4 separate regions of the Homo sapiens genome follow, and regions 1, 2 and 3 are each linked to region 4. The links are contacts of gene promoters, found by promoter capture Hi-C in blood cells and fetal thymus (Javierre and others, 2016). All regions are on one chromosome and are shown on one strand. The core of a region is centred on a gene start or on the middle of the fragment in contact, and the rest is flanking DNA. Distances in the headings are between cores, read along the strand shown. Region 1 holds the start of PAN3 (poly(A) specific ribonuclease subunit PAN3). Region 2 holds the start of RNF6 (ring finger protein 6). Region 3 holds the start of LNX2 (ligand of numb-protein X 2). Region 4 holds the start of HSPH1 (heat shock protein family H (Hsp110) member 1).

Evidence for each region. The method cuts DNA at HindIII sites, captures the fragments that hold promoters and counts their contacts. A CHiCAGO score of 5 or more calls a contact.
Region 1: the fragment with the promoter of PAN3 here is called in contact with a fragment that was not itself captured in region 4 in 2 of 17 cell types (non-activated CD4 T cells and activated CD4 T cells); the score reaches 7.1 in non-activated CD4 T cells.
Region 2: a contact is called between the fragment with the promoter of RNF6 here and a fragment that was not itself captured in region 4, in 2 of 17 cell types (total B cells and neutrophils). The highest score is 8.9, in total B cells.
Region 3: the fragment with the promoter of LNX2 here is called in contact with a fragment that was not itself captured in region 4 in 1 of 17 cell types (fetal thymus); the score reaches 5.8 in fetal thymus.

The regions. Positions count from the first base shown.
Region 1 is chr13:28,136,295-28,141,856 of GRCh38, reverse strand. It overlaps PAN3 (poly(A) specific ribonuclease subunit PAN3), which reads right to left and starts at 3,312. Exons shown (of 19, transcript NM_175854.8): 1 at 2,770-3,312. The coding sequence starts at 3,199. PAN3-AS1 (PAN3 antisense RNA 1) reads left to right here and starts at 2,683. Exons shown (of 2, transcript NR_029383.1): 1 at 2,683-3,310; 2 at 3,452-5,014. RefSeq lists an enhancer at 2,271-2,565 and silencers at 2,648-3,047, 3,088-3,167, 3,358-3,467. The HindIII fragment of the contact is 2,991 bases long and covers 1,623-4,613 here.
Region 2 is chr13:26,217,879-26,223,835 of GRCh38, reverse strand. RNF6 (ring finger protein 6) reads left to right here and starts at 1,522. Exons shown (of 5, transcript NM_005977.4): 1 at 1,522-1,833; 2 at 2,506-2,588; 3 at 4,169-4,379; 4 at 5,230-5,325. The coding sequence starts at 4,187. RefSeq lists enhancers at 1,462-1,841, 987-1,868, 1,869-2,750 and a silencer at 2,292-2,341. The HindIII fragment of the contact is 7,611 bases long and covers 1-3,597 here.
Region 3 is chr13:27,616,095-27,621,778 of GRCh38, reverse strand. LNX2 (ligand of numb-protein X 2) reads left to right here and starts at 1,250. Exons shown (of 10, transcript NM_153371.4): 1 at 1,250-1,404. It also overlaps a transcript of POLR1D not described here. RefSeq lists silencers at 1-190, 811-1,700 and an enhancer at 494-1,222. The HindIII fragment of the contact is 4,924 bases long and covers 1-2,521 here.
Region 4 is chr13:31,157,023-31,162,160 of GRCh38, reverse strand. HSPH1 (heat shock protein family H (Hsp110) member 1) reads left to right here and starts at 257. Exons shown (of 18, transcript NM_006644.4): 1 at 257-685; 2 at 3,298-3,355. The coding sequence starts at 579. RefSeq lists enhancers at 131-250, 381-460, 72-617, 618-1,163. The HindIII fragment of the contact is 798 bases long and covers 1,205-2,002 here.

The DNA of each region.
Region 1 (5,562 bases), core at 2,063-4,562, 3.0 Mb after region 4:
GGGTACTTACCTTCCCCTCCCATCTTCATCTGCTTACATCCTGTCCTCTTTCAAGTCTCAGCCCTTCTACCTATTGTGTGTTAATTAGAAAATCCTCGGCCAGGTGCGGTGGCTCCCGCCAGTAATCCCTAGGAGGCCGAGGCAGGCGGATCACCTGAGATCAGGAGTTTGAGACCAGCCTGACCAACATGGAGAAACCCCGTGTCTACTAAAACTACAATATTAGCTGAGCGTGGTGGTGCCTGCCTGTAATCCCAGCTACTAGGGAGTCTGAGGCAGGAGAATCTCTTGAACCCGGGAGGCAGAGGTTGCGGTGAGCCGAGATCACTAGATTGCACTCCAGCCTCGTAAACAAGAGTGAAACTCCGTCTCAAAAAAAAAAAAAAAAAAAAAAGAAAAAAAGAAAAAGAAAATCCTAGAATGATCGTCAGAGCTGTCTGTCAGGAATAAGATTAATAGATAAATAAAACTTTAAAAGTTTTTTTTAAAAAGAGAATCCTAGAAAGATCACCTATGAAGTCTAACACCAGCATTTTAAAAAGTGCCTCTTTCTGGCCAGCACAGTGGCTCACACCTGTAATCCCAGCACTTTGGGAGGCCGAGGCGGGACGATCACCTGAGGTCAGGAGTTCGAGACCCACCTGGCCAACATGGCGAAACCCCGTCTCTACTAAAAATACAAAAATAAGCCGGTCGTGGTGGCGCATGCCTGTAAAACCCAGCTACTTGGGAGGCTGAGGCAGGAGAATTGCTTGAACCTGGGAGGTGGAGGTTGCTGTGAGCCGAGATCGCACCACTGCACTTCAGCCTGGACGACAAGCAAGCCTCCGTCTCAAAAAAAAAAAAAAAAAAAGTGTCTCTTTCTGTCAGTAAGAAAACTATTGTTCAGTGTCATTGGTTACTAATCAAACATTACTACTGAGTCACGACTCACACATCCAGCAAAACTTTAACCTGAAAATGCAAAGTTGATGCTCGAAAGTGATAAAATTCCACCCATAAGTAACCATTTGTTTTACAAAACATCTGAATTTACAAAATTAATTTTCTTAGCATTATCAGCCTTAGCAAATATATCTTCATTAAAGTCAAGCCCATCACAACAAATGAAACACTTCTATAAAAGAAAAAGAAAGAAGAGAGAAAGGAGAAAAGAACAGAACAGAACAACACTTGGCCCAGCATGGTGCCTCACTCCTGTAATCCCAGCACTTTGGGAGGCCCAGGCAGGAAGATCGCTTGAGCCCAGGAGTTCCAGGCCAGCTTGGGCAACATAGGAAGATCCCGTCTCGAAAGAAAAAGCAAGAAAGCAAAACCCCGGGGAAGATATTAAATAATCCTCATAGACCAATTAAATGCTAAAACTTCCTATCAGGTTCATTAACAGTGTTTAAGAAAAAGACAAAATGTTCTCATGTACAAATTGAACTGCCTATCAGATTATTTTAAGATCTAGTTCTCCAGAATTCCCAAGAAAGTAGGACTCCTATTTGGTTTAGAAACGCTCAATATACTAAGAAACAAAACAGGGACATCTGGCACCGGCTCTATTCGTAAAGGCAACATTCTCTAACAGATTACGCTCACATTCAATTGTAAACTCCACTAACAACTAACAAGCTTCAGGTCAATAGATAACAACACACTGAGAGGCTGAGGAGGACAGATCACTTGAGGCCAGCAGTTTGAGACCAGCCTGGCCAACACAACGAGACTACTATCTCAACTAAAACTACAAAAAATTATCTGGCCGTGGTGGCGCGCGCCTGTAGTCCCAGCTACTCCGTAGGCAGAGGCAACAGAATCGCTTGAACTCGGGAGGCGGAGGTTGCAGTGAGCTGAGATCGCGCAACTGCACTCCAGCCTGAGCGACAGGGCGAGACTCTCTCCAAAACAACAACAACAACAACAACAACAACACATGAAAAAGAAATATAAACAGCCTTAAGATGTCCCCACCCAAGTGCTCAGTCGCACATAAACGCAGGCTGCACATGACATGCATTCAAGACACAATGCTGAGTTTGCTTGATACAAAGCTATAGAAGACAGGATCCCAGCTGACACCAGCAAACTTATTCTAGCTTTCAGGGAAACTCAGATGAAATGCGTCTTTGTGAAATCCCTACTCTAAACTCTCGATTAAACCTGAGCACACTTTGAACGCGACAGTCCGCTCCCTCCTAATCCTTAGAAAGCATTTCCTGCCTGCAAAACCTTTCTCCCGCAAGCCTTCTACAAACTTTTTCCGTTCTTTCAACCTACTCCACGAAGCCTTAAGCCCGCCCCTCACCTCCCGCCCCCTACACACACACACACACACACACACACACACACACACAAACACACCCCTCCCCACTAGGGAACCTCAACACTCTGCAGACGCCACTCCACAAGGACACGCAAAACACATGTGCCTGCAAACCCAGCCCCTTTCCACACCCCCCGGAAACGACACCCCCTTTCTCACACTCCGCACGCCACAGCCCATCCCCCTTCCTCCCCGCCCCCCCTTCACATCACCCCAGTCCTCCCACCCACGTTCCCGGGAACCCAACCTCCCCGCGCTCTCCGACTTGCCGAAGGCAGTGGGGAGGGGAAGCAGGAAGAAGGAAGGAGGGCTCAGGCCCGGCCTAGGCCTCTCAGACCGCCTTGGGAGGTGAGGGGGGGAGCCCGCGGGCCGTGCTCAGCTCCCGTCGGCAGCAGGGCCTCATCCGGCCCAGGCCTGCCCTCCGCCGCCGCGGCCCGCCCCGCCCGAAAAACACTCACTTGCCAGCCGCGGTCCATCGAGTCCCCCGCTACTGCCTCCTCCGCCGGCTGCGGCTCCGGTCCCCGGGTCCCCCAGGTCCGGCTTCTTGGGCCCGGGGGGCGGCCCAGCTCCCCCGCCCGCGACGGCTCCCGGCGGAAAGCCGGCCACGGGTGCACCAGCCAGAGCCAGGGGGACGCTGTTGCTATGGAGGCCGAGGCCCGGGGCAGCCCCGGCGGCAGGGTCCTCATGCAGGAACTGACACTCCTCCCCGTAGAAGCAAGTCTTATCCTTAGCGTAGTAGCGGCAGTACTTCAGCTTCACTCCTACCGCCGCCCCGCCGGGGACACCCCCGACCCCCGGCGGGGCCACCACCGCCACCGCCGCCGCCAGCGAGGAGGAGGAAGGGGAGGCGGCGGCCGAGGGGGGCGGGAGGCCGCCGCCACTGTTCATGGCAACGCCGCAGCCTCGTCTTCCGCCGCCGCCCGAGGAGCCGCCGCCGCCACCACCATAGACGGGGGAGGAAAGGAAGACGCTGCCGGTGCCGGATAAAAGCCTGGGCGGGTGGGTCTGTCCCGCTGCGGGAGCCGGAGCCGCCCGGGGAGAAGGGGGAGGGGAGAGGGGAGGGAGGAGGGGGTAGAAGGAGGGAGGGTAGGGGGAGAGTTGGGATTCTCTCACTCACTCTCTCGTTCTCTTTTCTTAAAGGGGCCGCGCGGGACGACGGGGTGAGCGCGCGGGCCCAGACGGGGACTTCGAGGGCGCGGGCAGGGGAAGAGGGAGCGGCAGCGGCAAGCGGGTGGGGAAGGCGGAGGGGCCGGTTTATTTTTAAATTCTGCCTCCACTCGCTCTCTCGCGCTCTGGTTCCTCCGAGTTGTTTATTCCATTTTCCTCTTCCTGAGACGGCCGTCGCCGCTGCGCGTGCGCGCTGAGACGCGAGGGCTTATGGGTAGCGGGAGCGCTAGGGGAAGCCTGGCCGGCGTCGGGCCCCCGGGGGCATCCGCGAGCTATCGGCGGTTGGACCGGCGGCTCTCGGTGGGGTTCCGGACGCGGATCTGGCGCCGAATTCTCACGAGACCTGATACCTTCCTTATTTGTATATTCTCTTACTTAAAAAGCCAGATGTCTTTTTTTTTTTTTTCATTGAAAAGAGAAAATTGACAAGGTAAACGGTCGTTTGGAGGGGCCACCTGGGGACGCGGCCCGAGCCCTGGCTCTACCTGAAGAATATCTTCTATTTGCCACACTTCCTCTCCCCGTTTCCTTTCTTCGCCCCTCTCCTCTTTCCCCTTCCCCTCGAAGGTAATGAGAACTACTGGACCGATTACGCTAACCTCTTGGCCCTTTGTCAAAAAATGGAGCCAAAAAGGTTGATTTAGACAGACCCCCTGCTCAGTGCAGCACCTGTTATTCTCTGTATTTATATTACCAAGGGCCTTCGGTAAATTATGAAAAATAGGATGCCACCTGGGACAACACTGCTTAGACAGCACTGGAAGACCTTTATAAATATACTAGGTTGCTTTTCTCCAATCAGCCTAGCCTTGATTTGAAATTCATTTTTATTTTTTTTGAGACGGTGAAATTCATTTTTAAAAGATAGTTTTAACCTCAGCGATCTCTGATGTTTGCGCTAATACCCTTTTAAAGGCTTTCAGAAATTTTAAAGAATTGCTATGAAAGGAAAAGTAACATTCTAGTTTTTCTCTGTAAAAGAGGTTCACAAACGGCAGATCGCTGTTATGAAAAGGAGGGGTGGAAGTATTTAAGGAATTGTGGCAAACAAAGTCACAGAAGAATGGATATAAGCAAAAGTAGCACACTGAAAAAAATGGGGAAAAGTGGAGTCTAGATCACAAACTGGTAAGCTTGGTGATGTTCTCTAGCCAAATTCGAAGGTAATAACATTGTATTATGGCTTTCTGTTTAAAAGCAGTTTCGCTTATTTGATTATTCAACAAATCTTTATTAACACGCATTACGTGTACCAGAAACTGTGGTACACTTAACTGTGGAGCTGGGGAAGCAAAAGTGAACATGCCGCCTTAAGTGAGTTCAGATGGCTTATCTTCCGGTTGGGGAGGCATCAAGTACACAGGTCCGTTGTAAACCAGTGTCTTAAGTGCTAACCTTATCACATTTGCTATTAGAGGATATTAAACATGTCAGACTTCTTGGAGAAAGTTGATATTTTCATGTTCCAAGTTTGGGAACATCATTGAATTCAGACAGATCTGGATTGAAACAGATTAAAGTGCCTACACTTTAATAGCTGTGTTCCTCTCAGTTAATTGCTTCATTTCTCTGTGCCTTGTCTGTACACCTGGATTAAGAATAGTACCTACTTCATAAAGTATAACTAATAATGTATATAAACTGTCCCATGCCTAATAAGAATTCGGTAGGTTGTAACTATTATTAATAGTATTGGCCAGGCGCAGTGGCTCACGCCTGTAATCCCAGCACTTTGGGAGGCCAAGGCGGGTGGATCACCTGAGATCAGGAGTTCGAGACCAGTCTGGCCAACCTGGTAAAACACCGTCTCTACAAAAATACAAAAAAATTACTGGGCGTGGTGGCGAGCGCCTGTGATCCCAGCTACTGGGGAGGCTGAGACATAAGAATCACTTGAACCTGGGAAGCAGAGGTTGCAGTGAGCCGAGATCTCGTCATTGCACGCCAGCCTGGGCGACAGAGCGAGACTCCATCTCGAAAAAAAAGTAGTATTGCTGCTAGTGGTAGTCAGTGTATAGTCAAAGAGCATTCTAGGCAAACAGCTTTTATTGTTAGAATACAGTGATAGTGGAAAATGGAGCAGA
Region 2 (5,957 bases), core at 273-2,772, 4.9 Mb after region 4:
CACACTTAAGCAGTTCAGACTCTAGGTAGTAAAGACCTAAAAACAGAAAATCATCTTAAGTATTTGCTCAATGGCTCTTTTTCCATGGGAAAAGAGGGCAAGGACTTCATTCTATGAGGACATGACTGTCTGATTCACGGCTGTCATCACCAGCACCTAATACATAGTCACACTCACTATTTGTTAAATACATGAATACATGCTAAAATAGGGTTTTATATATAGAGGGAGTATGGGAGCCCCCAAAAGGGACATTTGCTTAGTTTTATGTGTAAATATCGGGCTGGAGGGTGAGGTAAGGGTGTTATTTCAGAGGTATCAGGAAAAATTCCTTAAAGATGAGAACTGAGCTGAGTTTTGGGAGACAGAGGAAATTAGGTAAAAGTGGAGTTGGGGGTTGCTTAGGAGTTCCCATATCTTGTGGCGGAACTTCAAGCAGTTTCGGAGTGCCAAGACAACAGCCTGTAAATGTAAGCAGAAGAAAGATCTGGAAGGGCTTTCTAGGCTGTTTTATATATTTCCATTTTAGTATCCATATCCATATGCTTATTTTAAACACTTGTCCATAGATCCTTACTACACTGGTAGCTCATTGATGCTAAGGACTGCATGTAGCTTGTTATCCAGGTGCCCAGCATAATAATGGGGATATGGTAGTTCCTCAAAAGTTAATGCAGAAATGAAAGAACAAACGGAAGAATAACAAGTAACGGCATTGTGAGCACTCTCCAGTGATGAAGTCATCAGATGGTAGGGATGTCAGGAAAGGGGACTATACCAGGTTAGACAGAGACCTACTCAGCATCTTAACTAACGGTGAGGTAAGTTTAGTAAGCCTCACATCTCAGAAATAAAATCAGAGGGAGGAATGTTGGGAGTTTCAAACTGCTTTCCTAGCGGGAAGGTGAAAAAACACAAAATATAGTGGGGTGCGGTGCCTCATGCCTGTAATCCCATTTTGCTGAGGTGAGAGGATTGCTTGAGGCCGAGTACGAAACCAGCCTGGGCAACATAGCGAGACCCCCGTCTCTACAAAAGAAAAAATGTGAAATTAATGGCAAGCGCCTGTAGTTCCAGCTACTGGGATGAGGAGGGAGGATCGCTGGAGGCTGCAGTGAGCTACGATCGCTCTAGCCTGGGCGACAGGATGAGACCTTGTCTCAAATAGAGATAGACAGACAGACAGACTTCAGAATTTATTAGGGTTTGTAATTTCCAGGTTCCAAAGCACAGCAAGGGAAAGGGCCTGGCTGGGTAGTACGTTACACCCGGAAGTAAAGAGACGCATACACCGTTGGGTGCACTTTATAGTCTGGCTGGCAAACGAGCGACACCGACGCGCAGAGTTAAGTGCTGGGACTTCCCAAGCCTGGAAAGCAGACCGTGTCTCTGCAACTACGCGGCTGCCACGAGCGCTGAGCGGCCGGGCATTTGGCCTCGAGGAGGAGGCACTGTAAGGGCGGCGCAAGAGGGCGGAACGCGGGACGCCAGGCACCCTAGCTCCCGACGGACGCAGTTTTCAGTTGCACGGGCGAGCTCCGGGCCGGCTGCGGAGCGACTCCCCGCCGCCAAGTGGGCGGCGTGGCTGTCGGGAAAGAAGGGCTGGGGCCTGCCGTTCTTCCTCCCGAGTATCCCCTCCAGCTGGACGACCCCACGCTGCAGCACGGGCTTCCGGCTTCTCTCCTCAGTGGCCAATTCGAGGGCACAGCGGGCTCCGGAGGCGCGGCGGCAAGCCTATCCCGCCTCCCAACCACAGCCTCCAGCACCCGAGAGAACGGCCGCCCACAGCACACGTTCTCCGGACAGGAGGGCGAAGGCCCAAGACCTGGAGAGGTGGGCTCGAGGGAAAGATCTGGGTCCCACCACTACTTCCTGGAGACGCCGGGGAAAGCAGGCCATCCTTCGAGCCACCCATCTCTTCTCCGATTGGTTAACTGCCTTCTTATTGCGCTCCGCTGGCTGGTGATTGGTTGGGATGCACCGTCTATCACCTGCTTCCTTGTGAGAATCTAGGTCTCTAAGGGAAGCGTTACTTGAGGCTCGGTTGGGAAGAGGTTGGTTGGGCCTCTTGAGCCCACTTTATTTATCGTAGTGGGGATCGTCCCCCGGCGCGAGCTTCCGTCGCAACGGCCGGGAAAGAAACCAGTAGCGGGACGGAGGGCGGGGGTGGCAAGAAAGTCAAGGTTTAGAAGTAAGCCGGAGACGCCTAACCCTGGTAACATCCGAATGGGAACGGGATAGGAAGGAAGGCCTTTGAGAGAGGAGGCGTAAACCCAGGAACAGTGACAGTGTAGGACGAAAGGCCTAAGTTTGTTGCGGAAGGTAGGGGCCTTGCGGGAGGTTTTCGTGACCTAATTGTATGGGGATCTAATTTTCTAGATGTGTCTAACAAAATCCACTGGAGAATTTGCTTTGGCTTTGCAGCAGAGTGGGGAGACTACCACCCGTTCCTGGCCTTTAAAGAAACAGTTTATTGAATTATTCAACTCTCTTTTATTGCTTCAGATGGGCAGCTCTCAAAAAAGGCACAAACAATTGAAGGATGGATACCATGGCATATGTTAAAAGCGTGTTGAAAGGAAAATAAGGTATTCGCTTTGTTTTCATTGTGATTAACTGTATAAGAAAATTACCTTTAAGGAGAAGCTCAAGTTTTAAATAATATTAGGGTAACTTGATTTTATGATAGGCTTCAACTTGTAAAATTATTTATTACAAAAATCCTATTATTGCTGTACCTACGAAATATGCTCTTTGCTAATTATGGTCTTAATCTGAAGATAGAGATCTTGAGTTTTTAGTAGTGTTAATTCATATTTGAGTGGATAATGTTACTAGGTCATTTGTTCAAAATGACATAATAAAATAACCACAGTGAAAAAAATCCTTGAATTTGTAATTTAGTGTTACAGGTGAAATTGAATAGTTGCTTACTCCAACAGTATTTTAGACTTGTAGGCTAATTTCACCTTATATTTAAAGCAGCTTGCTTATTAAATACCTAGTGTATTTCGAGAGGCAGAGTTGCACAGTTGCTTCACTGGTAGCCTAGCCATTTGAGCCTCCAGCCTCTACTGAGTCAGGTGCTGTATTACTCATACCCTTTAGTGACATGCCAGAAATTGTCGAGGAATAGTTTATTTCATCTGCAGAACACCCAAATTAGCTCTTAACAGCAGACCTGGTCCTACCCTGGAAAACTCTAATCAAGGATTGGGGATGAGATTTGGGCATCTAGATTTTTAAAAATACCCTTAAGTGAGTTTGAGAACCATTGCTTTAGTGTGACTTACTGAATAGATGTATTTAAGAAATTCTAAAATATTTGTGAAACAAACATCTTTCTCTCTTGATTTCCATGTAATTTAAAAGTGAGCTTCTCAGGAGTGACACTTAAATATAATCCAAAAATAGTGGTTTCTTAGGCAAAGTCAGGAAGTTTCACTGGCATTCTGAAACTCCTGGGACTAACCATTCCAGGCTTAAGGATGAGGCTTGATATGGGGTGATACAAAGTGCTCTGATGCACTTTCACAATCCTTGAGCCATACATGATGTCTTGTTTCCTGTTGGGTTTCAAAGTCTTCCTGGTAAGCTTTAATAAGAGACCACCTTCCAGTTTGTTCAGTAGATATTAATTAGGCTAAATGATTTTCACCTCATCAAAGTGCAGTGGGGGATAATATTACATTCATGAGCCTTATTTTGGAAAGAATACCTTGCTGAAAACAAATGTAAATTATATCATCCCAGTATCCCTTTGCTCATTAAGTGAAGAATGTGCATAATTCAAGCCTAAAATTTGTAATTAATGTGAAGTACCCAGATCCTGAAACATAAATGAGGACTTCTGGATCAACTTTTCCAGATCGTCAACATGGTCAAAAATGAGATAATCACTATGGTATTCAGGCATGAGCATTGTGTGGTAAACCCAAATCCAGTCTGACTTAATGGCTTTAGGCAAAGAAGTAAGTGCCAATTGTGTTGTATTTCCTAGAAGCTGTTTTTCATTTTATATGTAAGCTTCTCACTGCAAGATTTGGCAAATACAGTATTTGGGTAGGGGACAACATTTAAAAATTAAGAAAAACTGCAAGTTAAAAATACAAAGCCAAATGTGGTCCATGACTTAACACCTTGAATGTTGTTTATATTGTTTGAACAGAAAGCCAGGAATCTCAGGATGAATCAGTCTAGATCGAGATCAGATGGTGGCAGTGAAGAAACCTTACCTCAAGACCATAATCATCATGAAAATGAGAGAAGATGGCAGCAAGAGCGTCTCCACAGAGAAGAGGCCTATTATCAGTTTATTAATGAACTCAATGATGAAGATTATCGGCTTATGAGAGACCATAATCTTTTAGGCACCCCTGGTAAGAGATGGGTAAAAGAGGAAACACCCTTTTTTCATCATTTAGATGGAAGGATTTCAAGATAAGGAGAATTGGTATTCTTTTTCCTTGCTTCTCTTTATGAAAATATAGTATATTGTTTTTGTGAGTTTAAGAACTTTTTAGTATAATAAAGTAGAAAATCACTGGCTTCTGTATTTTATAAGGTGAAAATAGGGGACATGGAGCACTATTATACAAATGCCAAACTAAGAAACAGGTTAATGTACATAATGGTGTTAAGTATTTACATATATGGTCCTATTTGTAATTTTTATACAAATAAAATATGACTTAAAACCCAATTTGAACTCATTTGGGGTATTATAATTTATTTATTCAGCTGAATTAATAGCTCCCCCCAAAGCCCAATGTGTTCCATAAAGTTTTTACAAATGAACTAATGGAAATTTGTATGTTTATATATTGTGTGTTTGTATATTGATGACCCATATAATGAAGTATTTGGGATAAAATTCAAGTAAATATTTGAAGTTTTCTCTATAAATGCTCCCTTAATTTCTTTTTAACTGACAAAAATCCACAGTTATAGCTTATAGATTCCTAAGTGTATCAACTGGCAGCACTTTACCAACTATTCAAATTAAATCTTATTTTAATAATTTTTAATAAAAGATTAATAAATGAAGCACAACCGAATTGATGCACATTTGTACCAGTTGAATATTTTTAACTGTCTTCAATTTACAGAACATATGAAAGTAATAAGACATTTGTCTTCTATAGGTTACTAAAGATTAGTCTTACCCTTCATGAGGTCTCATAAAACTTAATTCAGAATTCTTAAATGAGCAGTTTTTCATTGTTTTAGGAGAAATAACATCAGAAGAACTGCAACAGCGGTTAGATGGCGTCAAGGAACAACTAGCATCTCAGCCTGACTTGAGAGATGGAACGAATTACAGAGGTACTATGGAGTCCTTTCCATAAGGAACAGGCTTGATTGGAGCACTTGCAGAAATGAAATTCTTAGACCTTGTATAGTATGTTTGTCTTCAATTTTTTCCAGTTTTAATGTGATACTCATTCAGATAATATATATATGAGTAGTAAAGCAGTATGGTTAAGCAGTATAGGACAGAGGAATGAATGCAAAGATGTCTTAAACACACAGATTGCCTTCAGAGAGCTTTATGTAATAATATACAATTAAGTTAATTCCCAGCATGCTTCTTTTTAATCTTGGAATGTACACATTACTTTTTCTAAAGTGATATTACTTAGCTTCTAAAAATTTATATACAGAACCGTGTAGAAAGACTGAGTTAGGAAACCTGTTTTTGTTTCTTTGTTCTGTTTGATGGTTTACATATAAAAAGTTCTTATAAGGAAAGTACTATAAAAGAACTTCAAACTAAATGAAGTATGTAGAGTTAAAAGGAAAAGCCACTTTTGTGTTCCTCTTAACCAGTTCTACTTCCCTCCTCAGAGGTATTTATTAGTAGTTTCACATATTATATCAAAATCATTGTATTAGTTACCATGAAGTCTATGTAAAAACCCCAAAATGCAATGGCTCAATAAGCTAGAAGTTTCTTA
Region 3 (5,684 bases), core at 1-2,500, 3.5 Mb after region 4:
GCGGGGTGAGCGGTGGCTCGCGGCCCCGCGGCTCACCTGGGCGACCACGCGAGGCCACTCGCGGCGGGAGGGGCAGGGGGCGGGGCCAGCGCCGCCTTACCCCGAGGCCCAGACAGGCCTGCGGGCGCCCCGGCTCAACTCTGGTACCTTTCCCCAGGTGATGGCGAAGGGGCGCGGCCTTACCTGCCGCCCCCAAATCACTTCCCTTCCCAGTGGCAAGTCCGAAAGCGGCCCGACTTCCCAACTGGGGCGGTGTTGACCCAGGATGGCCCTTCCTGGGACCCCGGCCCTCCCGGGCCTTTTGTGGGACGACAGGCTTAAACTGTAGTCGGTCAACACACCTTGAAGAGGGAGGGGGGTCACGTGCGAGATGAGTCACCACAGAATACGAAGGTTGAAGGCGGTATTTGTTTCACCGGGGAGCTTGCAGTTGCATTTTCAACTGGGTCAAAATAGGGCAAGAAAGAAATGTCTCTTTTGGGGGAGTGAGAGTTTGGGAGAAAACTGTTTCCCACCTTATCCTTTCCGTCCTAGGATTCCTTCTACCCCCAGAGCGCGTCCTCTCCGGCTGTAGACTTCCTTTTCCCTTTCTCCCCAGTGGCTCCTCAAACCTCCTCACCTGCGGAACCCGCCCTCACCTTTGTTCCCAGGCGCCCAGCCCCCGCCTCGGCAACCTTTCGCCGCCCAGGCTCGCTCTCCATCCAGCTCCCTGCGTCCCGGCCTTCGCTGTGCTCCCTCAGGTGCGCTTCCTCTCGAATCGGCCCTTCTTGTCCCCTCGCCGCTGGCCCCGACCCTGCCCGACTCCAGCTGTCCAGCGCAACTACGTTTCTGCTTCCCTGCGCCACCTGTTCTCCTGGCCTCCCCCCACCCCGCCCCGCGATTCCTCTGGATGTTCACTCCTTCCCCAGCTGTGCCACTCTTGGCGGCGGCCGGGGGTGCGCGCAGACACCTAGCCAGCGGGGCTTCCGCAGGGGAATCAGGCGGGCGGCGGGGACAGCCCGGGGCGAGTGGGGGAGGCGGGCGGCGAGGGCGGAGTGGTCTCACTCTAACCCGGGAGTGACGGGTCCCTTCTGGCCCGCCTCCCGAGCTCTCGGATAGGTGGAGCCGCCCTCTGGTCCGCCCACCTCCCGCCCTGTGCTACCTCCGATTGGCCCGGGTGCGGGTTGGGCCGCTCGGCCTTGGCGCTGCCCCCGGGAAGGCAGCAGGGGCGGTTGAGAAGTGAAGTCTTGGCCGGAGTTTGCTTTTTGCCAGGAAATCCGCGGCGGCGGCGGCGGCGGCGGCGATTCCTGGCGGAGCGGAGCCGGGCAGGCTCTCCGCTCCCTCAGCGGGCCGCGGAGAGCGGGAGCTGGTGCCGAGCAGCGGCGCCAGGAGCCCGTGCGCGGCCCGGGCAGCCGCGCTTTCCCAGTGAGTAACTTTGCCCTGCCCGCCTCGCTGCGCGCCCTCTCGCTGGCTGCGGGCAGCCGCCTCAGGTGCGGGCGTCAGCTGGGTGTGGGTCAGCGCCGCGCCCCGGGAGGCGGCCGGAGCGGCGCCACAGCTCGCCCCGGAGCCTTGGTCCTTCGCGGCTGTCTTCGCTCGCCCGGGCTGCGGGGCTGGCGTGGACTCGGGTGTGGGTCTGGTCCAGGAGGGAGAGTCGGCGCCCGGTGCCCGCCGCCTGCAGGCGCCCGGGAGGCGGGCGGCCTCCGGCTGTTAGCGTTTGCTGGTTCCGGCCACCGTGGTGCAGAGCTTGGCGTCGTTTGCTTCTTAAGGGAAGGGAGAGGTGGGGTGAGTGTTTAAATTTCCTCTGTGTGTGTGTGGTGTCGGCAATGAGAGTGGCACTAGCTGCCTTTATCGGGTTTTGTTCTCTGGAAAGGGATGGGGAGAGATCATTCCCTCCGCCCCAGCCTGTTGCCTGTGAATTCTCACCTTTCTCTTTAGGCTGGAGAGGGTGGGAGAGAGATTTGACATCTTCCAGGGGGTAATTTAAAAATATGAATCTTGATTTGGAAGCAGTTGCACACAAAGCATCATTCAGGAAATACATCACTCGCTTTTCAAAGCTGTATGCCACGTTTTAAACAAGGACTTTTGACTCATGTAGTGTTTCTTTTAGTATTTCAGTTTACGTTAAGTTTATGAATCCAGACGTTCGTTTGTACCAGGAGCTAAAGTACACTTATGCATGGGCTTTGCTGTGTATATTATGCTTTTTAAAATCACAGAAATCAGAAACAAAGTTGAGTGAAAAGCGGTGGCGGTGCAGGAGGAGGAACACTTGTGAGCTCCAGCTTATTGGAACTGCCTTTAAGAATTTCACATTCTTGCGGCAATAGTACTTACTTGTAAATTGGCCTTCTTCCCAGGACAGGTTTTGATATTTCTTTTGCATGTACTTCGATGCAGCACTAATGAAGTTGGATCTCAGTAGATCAATTTTATTTACTTTGCTAGATTTGATTCCCACCCCCACACCTCTTTAGAAAATGGACTTTGGCAGGTAAAGAAGGAAGCGGGAATCTGGTATCCTTTTTGGCTTGTCAAAGCTTTGTTGAGCCATGAATAACAAAGTTTTGGCTTTTTAGCTTGTCCGAGTCCCACATGTGAGTTTTCCCATGGGGTAAAAGTAGGCCAAATGAGAACCAAAGTAGAATAACATCACTTTTAATTCGGCCCACTTGTGTGTTACATTCTCCATATATCTTGTTTCTCTCATCAACTTTGAAATTTTTTCATTATTTATTCATTTAGCCACTGATAAAGTACCTACTGCATGCCAGCCATTGATGGCGGGGGTTGCTTCTTGCCCAGTTTTCTCATTTGGAAACTGATCCATGCCTTTATCCCACTAGTTACCCTGAAGTAATTTGAACTTAGGGAGCATTTCTGCCTGGAGACCTGTAAGAATAGGTGTTACGTAGGCACTTAGTCTTCAGATTGGTTTGGGATTTCGTACATTGTAGGCACGTAGCACGCAGGCCACTTAAAAATAAATGTATGTGTCTTTGGGCTGTTGTATTACGAGCTTTGCATATGGGCTTGTCTGGCCGAAGGACCCAGTGTCCGAGGTGGAGGTAGTAGTCAGGGACATGTATTATTCATTTCAGAACACTTGGCACCTTTTCTTGCTTACATTGGGCACTAAAATATTTACTGAATTGACTTGAACAGAAAAATGAAGGATTTTTTATACCAGATTAAGAAATTTGGACTTTATCCAGTCAGTGATACTGAGCTGCTAATTTTAAGCAGGAGAATGTCATGATAACGGGTAAGCATTCCAGAAAGATATCTGCAGCGTCTGGAGGATGGTGGGCTTCCAGATGGGCGATATGGAGACTAAGTTGGAGGCTGTTCTAATGGAGGGGTTAAGTGCTCAGGGATTCTCTATTCAGATTACCTGGGGTGGAATCAGGCTCTGTCATACACTGAAACCTCTTTGTTCCTTAGGTTTGTCATCTCAGAGTTTGGGGGATAGAACTTGAAAAAACATGTCTATTACTTAGAATAGTGATTGCCAGATAGTAAGGACTTAGTAAATGCTAGTGTGCTGGCAGTGGAAGGAGAAATGACGTGGTGTTTAAGAGGTATGACTAGGAGGCTGGACTAGGTAAGTGACTGGGTAGGCTTAAGGAGGGAAGGATGAATCCTGGGTTGTTTGACTTCAGGCATTGATTGACATGTACTGGGTAAGCTGGCTGTGAAATTAAAACGGGTCAAATTCTAATTCTATTACTTACCCTTAGAATAACTATCCTGACAGAACTTTGATTTCCTAACATTTGGGAAATGATTGTCGTACCTGTTGAGTAGGGTTTGAGGAATTATGCATGTAATGCCTTTGGCAGGGTACCTAGCACATTCCAAGTGCTCAGTAAATATTAGTTGTTCCTTTAGATGATGACATTAATGAGCTAGTGGAATGTTGGAGGATATGAGAAGGAGCAGTTAAAAACAATTGATGGTAGAGGTGTAGAAGGGAAGATAAGTTCAGTTTTGGACTAATCTAAGGAGGTGCTAAATGGATGGTTGAGAGATCCATGATGCAGTTGTTGGATAGTTGTGTCTCACAGGAGCTAGGAAAGAATAGAAAAGAAAAAGAGTTCACAGAAAGGCTTTATGAGTATGGTAAGCTTTATGAGAGATTTAGAGGAAGGGGAGGGTGAAGGGGTTCACAGTGGAGCGATATCAGAAGTGTTGACATTGAATATTAGGCATTTCTATCCTTAAAATATATTTTGGCCACCATCAAAGAAAGGAGGACTCCAGGCTCTTGTAATCTGGTTGGCTCTTTGGCCTTCTTCCCCTCTTCTTTCTTTCCTTTACAATTGCCACCCGATATCTTTAAATTGTATTATGAGGAACTATTTAACTTTCCTTCCTGCTTACAGGGCTAGAGTTCACAGGCCCACCTTCCTCTATCCAAATGCATCTAGGTTTTTAAAAAAGAATCACAGGTCTCATTTCATAGGTTCTCCTCTATTTAGGAAGCAGTGTTGTTTGAAAAAGTAATACATATGTATCTTGCATGTAGAATTAGAAGACTGGGGCAGGCCTACCTAAATTGACCCTGTAGGAGGGCCTGAGAGTCTTACAAAAGACATCCCTTTTAGCTTTCCTGGCACCTGTTTCTTTTCCTCAGAAAATACAAAGCAGTAGGAAAATCTGTGGTTAATAAGTTATTTTGTTTGGTTGGATTCAGAAAAGGTGGCTATTTTGTGTATTAGCCTTCTAAGAAGTTATTAAGAGGAATTTTTTGGCCAGGTGCAGTGACTCACGCTTATAATTCTAGCACTTTGGGAGGCTGAGGCGGGCGATCACGAGGTCAGGAGTTCAAGACCAGCCTGGCCAACACAGTGAAACCCTGTCTCTACTAAAAATACGAAAATTAGCTGGGCGTGGTGGCAGGTGCCTGTAATCCCAGCTACTCAGGAGGCTGAGGCAGGAGAAATCGCTTGAACCCGGGAGCTAGAGGTTTCAGTGAGCTGAGATTGCGCCACTGCGCTCCAGCCTGGGTGATAGAGCTAGACTCCATCTCAAAAAAGGAATTTTTTAACAAGCAAGTGCTCATGACATTACAATAATAAATTGTCCTCTAGTTAGTATGCTTTTAAAGAAGCAGGTGTTGTAGGTTCTATCCTTTAGAATGTGTGCTTCCTAGAGCTGGGATCCTATCTATTTTGCTAACTGCAGAATCCCTAAGTACTTAAACAAATATTAATGTATTGTAAACCAAAAATAAAATTCTAAGCTTCCCCCTCTCCCCAGCCATCTGAATGGACTTCCTCCTCATCCAGGGGTCTTTTAAAATTTAACCTGAGAGACAGTTTCAGGCCATGAGTGGGAAGTGGAGGTCGGACATGACTTGTTATACCTCTCTGACATTAACATTAACATAGACTTTAAGTCCGATAAGAAACGTTTTACTACCACCTATCGAAGCCTACTACCTGAAGGCTTCCTCTGAAAGTAAGAACTTGGGTCTCCACAATCCTTTGTCTTAACCCAGACATTCCTTTCTGTTGATCCCAGGGCTTTAGACAAACTCAACCGACTGTCAACCAGAAAATGTTTAAATTTACCTATGGCTTGGAATGGCACTCCCTGCTACCCCCCCCAACCCCCCACCCCACCCCCGACCCCCTGCAATTGTCCCACCTTTCTGGACCAAACCAATGTATTTCTTAAAATTTTTTGATTGATGTCTCATG
Region 4 (5,138 bases), core at 354-2,853:
TGGCTAGGGCGGGAGTGGGCGGAGGCAGGTTTGAGCCAATGGCACGGGAGCGGCCCTGTCGCTGCCATGGCAACGGCGGCCGTTCTCCGGGGACCGGCTGCCCATTGGGTAGAATCTTTCCAGAAGGCTCGAGAAGAAGGAAGCGGAAGTGGCACGTGGAGGGGCCGGTGGAGGCGCCGGTGAGTAAATGCCGCAGATTCTGGAAAGTTCTGATCAGTGCGATACATAAGGCTGAGGAAGTGGGACCTCCCCTTTTGGGTCGGTAGTTCAGCGCCGGCGCCGGTGTGCGAGCCGCGGCAGAGTGAGGCAGGCAACCCGAGGTGCGGAGCGACCTGCGGAGGCTGAGCCCCGCTTTCTCCCAGGGTTTCTTATCAGCCAGCCGCCGCTGTCCCCGGGGGAGTAGGAGGCTCCTGACAGGCCGCGGCTGTCTGTGTGTCCTTCTGAGTGTCAGAGGAACGGCCAGACCCCGCGGGCCGGAGCAGAACGCGGCCAGGGCAGAAAGCGGCGGCAGGAGAAGCAGGCAGGGGGCCGGAGGACGCAGACCGAGACCCGAGGCGGAGGCGGACCGCGAGCCGGCCATGTCGGTGGTGGGGTTGGACGTGGGCTCGCAGAGCTGCTACATCGCGGTAGCCCGGGCCGGGGGCATCGAGACCATCGCCAATGAGTTCAGCGACCGGTGCACCCCGTAAGTGGGAGTCTGCGAGGGTGGATGGGAGGAGGTTCTGGGCCCTTAGTGTGGGGACCCAAGATCGCGGGCTGGCTGTACGGATCACCGCGGCAAACGGAGGCGTTTGGGCAGCGGCGCACCCCTCCGTGGAACTAGGGACCAGCGACCCGGCCAGAGGAGGGATGGGGGGCTTGCCATCACAAATTGGAGAAGGGATTGTCTCAGGGATTCACGGGGGTGAGAGGAGTCCCAGAGTCGAGACTCTAAGGGTCGTCACCTTGTGCGGGCTTCCTATTGGGGGTTTTCAAAACCTACTGGGGGTCGGGCTGCGGCAAAGCCCGCAACTTCGCTCCCTTTTCTTGGCAGGCTGCAGCCTGCGCCTTCCGCGGCCGCCCCCGTATCCCCACCCGGCCTCTCTGAGCTGGCTGAGCCGCCTCCAGCTTGTCCTCCTCCCTTCGCGCATATCTTTGCGCACCGCGGAGCGGGGCTGCCGGCCTTTTTCTTCCGCATTGTGAATCTCGAAATGAACTGGAAGCTTCCAGAGCTTGTGTCGCTGCTTGTCCAGTGAGCAGGCGGATTGTTGTTAGCGACCACGGAAGCAGTCCTATGAAAGATTAGCCCACCTCTTTTTACCCAGTCTCTTCGTTGCTAACATTGTTGGCCTTAATGCCCGGGATCATTGTCGAAAGATGTAAACGTCTTTTTTTTTGCTCTTTGCCATTCATGAGGAATTGTAAACCGTATTTTTAAAATTAATTTTGCACAGTTTATTTAAAAGAGAATAAAAATTGCATACTTTTGTGCTAGGACGCCAAAAGAGGATGGATGTCGTCACTGAACTAAATATTCTATAGGAGCATAGGGTGGGCAAAGGGCAACATTTTAAAAAGCAAGTTTCGTGAAGGGATATTTTCGGACGAGAATATATACAAACATATCTGCATGTGCATTGATGAAAACAAATGATTTCATCTCAAGGAAAATACTGTACCTATTAATTTTTTTCAAATGTCCCAAGCTCAGGATGAAAAGTGCAAAATGAAAACATTGAACCTAAAGGTAGAATGAATGACTGGGGTAATACAATTATTTGGGTGCTGAGAACGTTTATGAAAGTTGAGTGGAAAATCTGAGGCAAAATATTTGGCAATGTTAGTAACGTTAGGAAGACTGTTCTGAGCAACCTGTACGTCTACCCCTGCAGATCTAAGTTTGTGTTTTGGTTAAGGTTTTTTTAATTGGAGTTTAGTAAGAAAGAAAACAGTATTTCAGGCTTTCATGCCTAGATACAGTTTATACTTTGTTCTGGTTGATCCAATAAAACAAAGAAAAGCTTTTCAGAGAAGAGAGTGGGAAAAAAAATTGTGTTATACAGGGACTACTGTGTGAAATCAAAGACAACAGGTATGGCCCTGAAAAATGTGAACTGAGGGCAGTATTGGAGTTCCCCTTAATATGTTTGTTAAACTATAATTGTGGTGGATTCTATTGTATCAGCTACTAATTGTTATTTAGTACAATTAATTTGATTCTCCCCTAGGAAAATGAGTAGATCCATTCTGCAAGTGTATGGTTATTCAGAGCTTACAGTGATGCTCTGATTTTGACGGTTTCTTGTCTAGCTTCTGCTTGGACACTTCTCTGGCTTTTAGGATGCTATTTTATTTAACACTTGCTCAGATAATATAGTTTGAGGATGTTTCTATTATAGCAAATTTAAACTTAAGGGTGGTACTTAATGCCCTCAGTATTTTCCCGTTTTGCTCATCTCGTTTACCATTACTCATACCTAAGCAGGTAGGAGTAACTCACCCAAAATTAGATTATATTTGAATTAGTAATCCAGAATTAGATAACTCCTCTAATCCAAAACCTAATTCACTTACCTTCTTCTCACAAGACTTTTTAAGCTAGTCTCTGCTCTGTTATTGTGCGGTTCCATTTCCATGGTGGCTGAGAAGGTTGTTTCACAGTTGTAAGTCACTTTCCATCTCTTCAAAACAGATTTGATGTAACTGATTAGTCACTCCTTTCCCTCGACATTTATATTCTGTTTTGCCATGGTACTTGTTGTGCATCATTTTTTTCTTTCTCCGGCAGAATCTCCCAGATGGGAACCTCTTTGTGCTCTTTAAACTTCAGAGGTGTAACTTGGGTTCATTTGCTTGCGTTTGCATAAAAACTTTTGATTCCTAAAGAAGCCGGTGGTATATCAGAACAAAAGTCGGTATGACAATGACATTTAGATTTGTACAGAGTTGGTGACTGAAAGGTAGAGTCACATCCTATTTTTTGTTAGTCGTGTGTAGGGTCAAATTAATAATACCGTTAACATATTTAAAACATTTTCAAAGTTAATGTTCGGTTCATAATAACTGGAACCTGGAGAATTCCTGAGCCACGAGCAGAGGTTTTTGGGGTAGTAGAACTGCCACCTAGGTTGGATCTCAGAGCAGCAATTAAGTGGAAGCCCCCTTTGAGTATCTGATGAAAGCTATAGACCTTAAAATTGTGCTATGCTTGTTCCCTATCCCCTAATGGGTAGGACATTTATGTTAGTATTTTTCTCTTATCAGTTTAAAATATCAACCTTTATGCTTTTTAATTTTTTGGAATATATTTTTTTCTAGGTCAGTCATATCATTTGGATCAAAAAATAGAACAATCGGAGTTGCAGCCAAAAATCAGGTATGTTCTTTAAGAGAATTCGGATCACTTTTTAAGGGGGGAGTTTTTAAAAGGAAAATCTCAAGAGACATATAAGAGGGTAAAGTGTGCCTAAGTTTATGTATTTTTGAGTTTTAAAAATGTAATTCAAGTATTCTTTATGAACCTTCAGATGATGACACTCTTTCCTTTCTGTTCCCTTTCCCTTGTTTTATTAAGATCGACTTTAACTTTCTAATCTGCCATCCTTAACTTTTTTTTTTTTTTTTTTTTTTTTTGAGATAGAGTCTCGCTCTGTTACCCAGGCTAGAGTGCAGTGGCGCGATCTCGGCTCACTGCAACCTCCGCCTCCCGGGTTAAAGCGATTCTCCTGCCTCAGCCTCCTGAGTAGGTGGGATTACAGGCGCGTGTCACCACGCCCAGCTAGTTTTTGTATTTTTAGTGGAGATGGGGTTTCACCATGTTGGTCAGACTGATCTCGAACTCCTGAGCTCGTGATCCATCTGTCTCAGCCTCCCAAAGTGCTGGGATTACAGGTGTGAGCCTACGCCTGGCCTGCTGACTTTAACTTTTAGTAACTTTTTGCTGCCTTTCATTTATCTAATTTTTAGAAATTATAAACAAGGCATTTTAAGTTCTTGTGAAGTTTCTCGTGATACTCATTTAAGAGATTCCTTTTATAGAAGGAACTTCTAAGAAATTATGTGTTTAAAAGCATTTTCAGGTTACTTAGTAATTAAGGTAGGACTGGGAGAAATTTTTGTCCAGACCTGTGCTGTTTAAAAAATATGGTAGCCATGTACTGTATTGAGCATTTGAAATGTGGCTCGTCTGAATCAAAATGTGAAGTATAAAATACACATGAGATTTTTTACTTTTTAATCGAATTGAAAAGTAAAGTACGGTATCTGATCAATTTTTTTCTGTTGACTACTTATTGAAGTGATAGTTCCTAAAATATATTGGCCTAAGTTAATTGAAATTAATCTAATCTCTTACCAGTTTTTAACGTGGCTGCTACAAAATTTTATGTAGGTAGCTCTCCTTTATGACTTACATATAATTCTGTTGAACAGCACTGATCTAGACAGACCCCTTGGAGGTGGAGAGAAAAACAGTAAAAGATACGTGAAATGCTCTTTGAGAGGCTCTTTGAAATAAAAAACATTTTTCTAAATACAGAAAATAGATTGCTAAGAAAGAAAATTTTGGATTAGATTGAGTACTGTATTATATATTATGGAATGTATTTAGTACTGACCTATTAAAAAATCAGGTCAGATTTGAAAACAAAAACATCTCTTAAAATGCTTATGTTTAATAAGAAATTGGCACTTTATCAAACTTATGAATCTGCTTTCATTAGAAAATGGTTTCATGTTTTCTAATCCTTTGAATATGTAGGTTGGATTTAACTTTATTTCCTTGTTACATTGGAAGAGAGAGATAACTAAAAGGGGTGAAAAAGGAAAGGAGAAATAGGCACACTCAAAATATGTTCAAAAGGATAGTGGGACTTTAGTTGTAACAATCCTTTAAATGTGCCCATTGAGGATATTGATAGCCTAGACCTAAAATTCTGTTGCATCCTTGTGATTACTTGAGAAGAATCTGTTGAGACTCATATTTGGCCAGTATACTACTAGACATACTTCATCTCAGTTTTAGACACATAAGGAATTTTAAGACCTAAACTTGCTTGAATTCTATATTGTTTGAAAACTAGTACTGCCAAGCTAACTGTATTCTTCCCTTTATTCAAAAAATTAGGTAAGAGAAAAAGTAAATAATATACTGTTTTGGT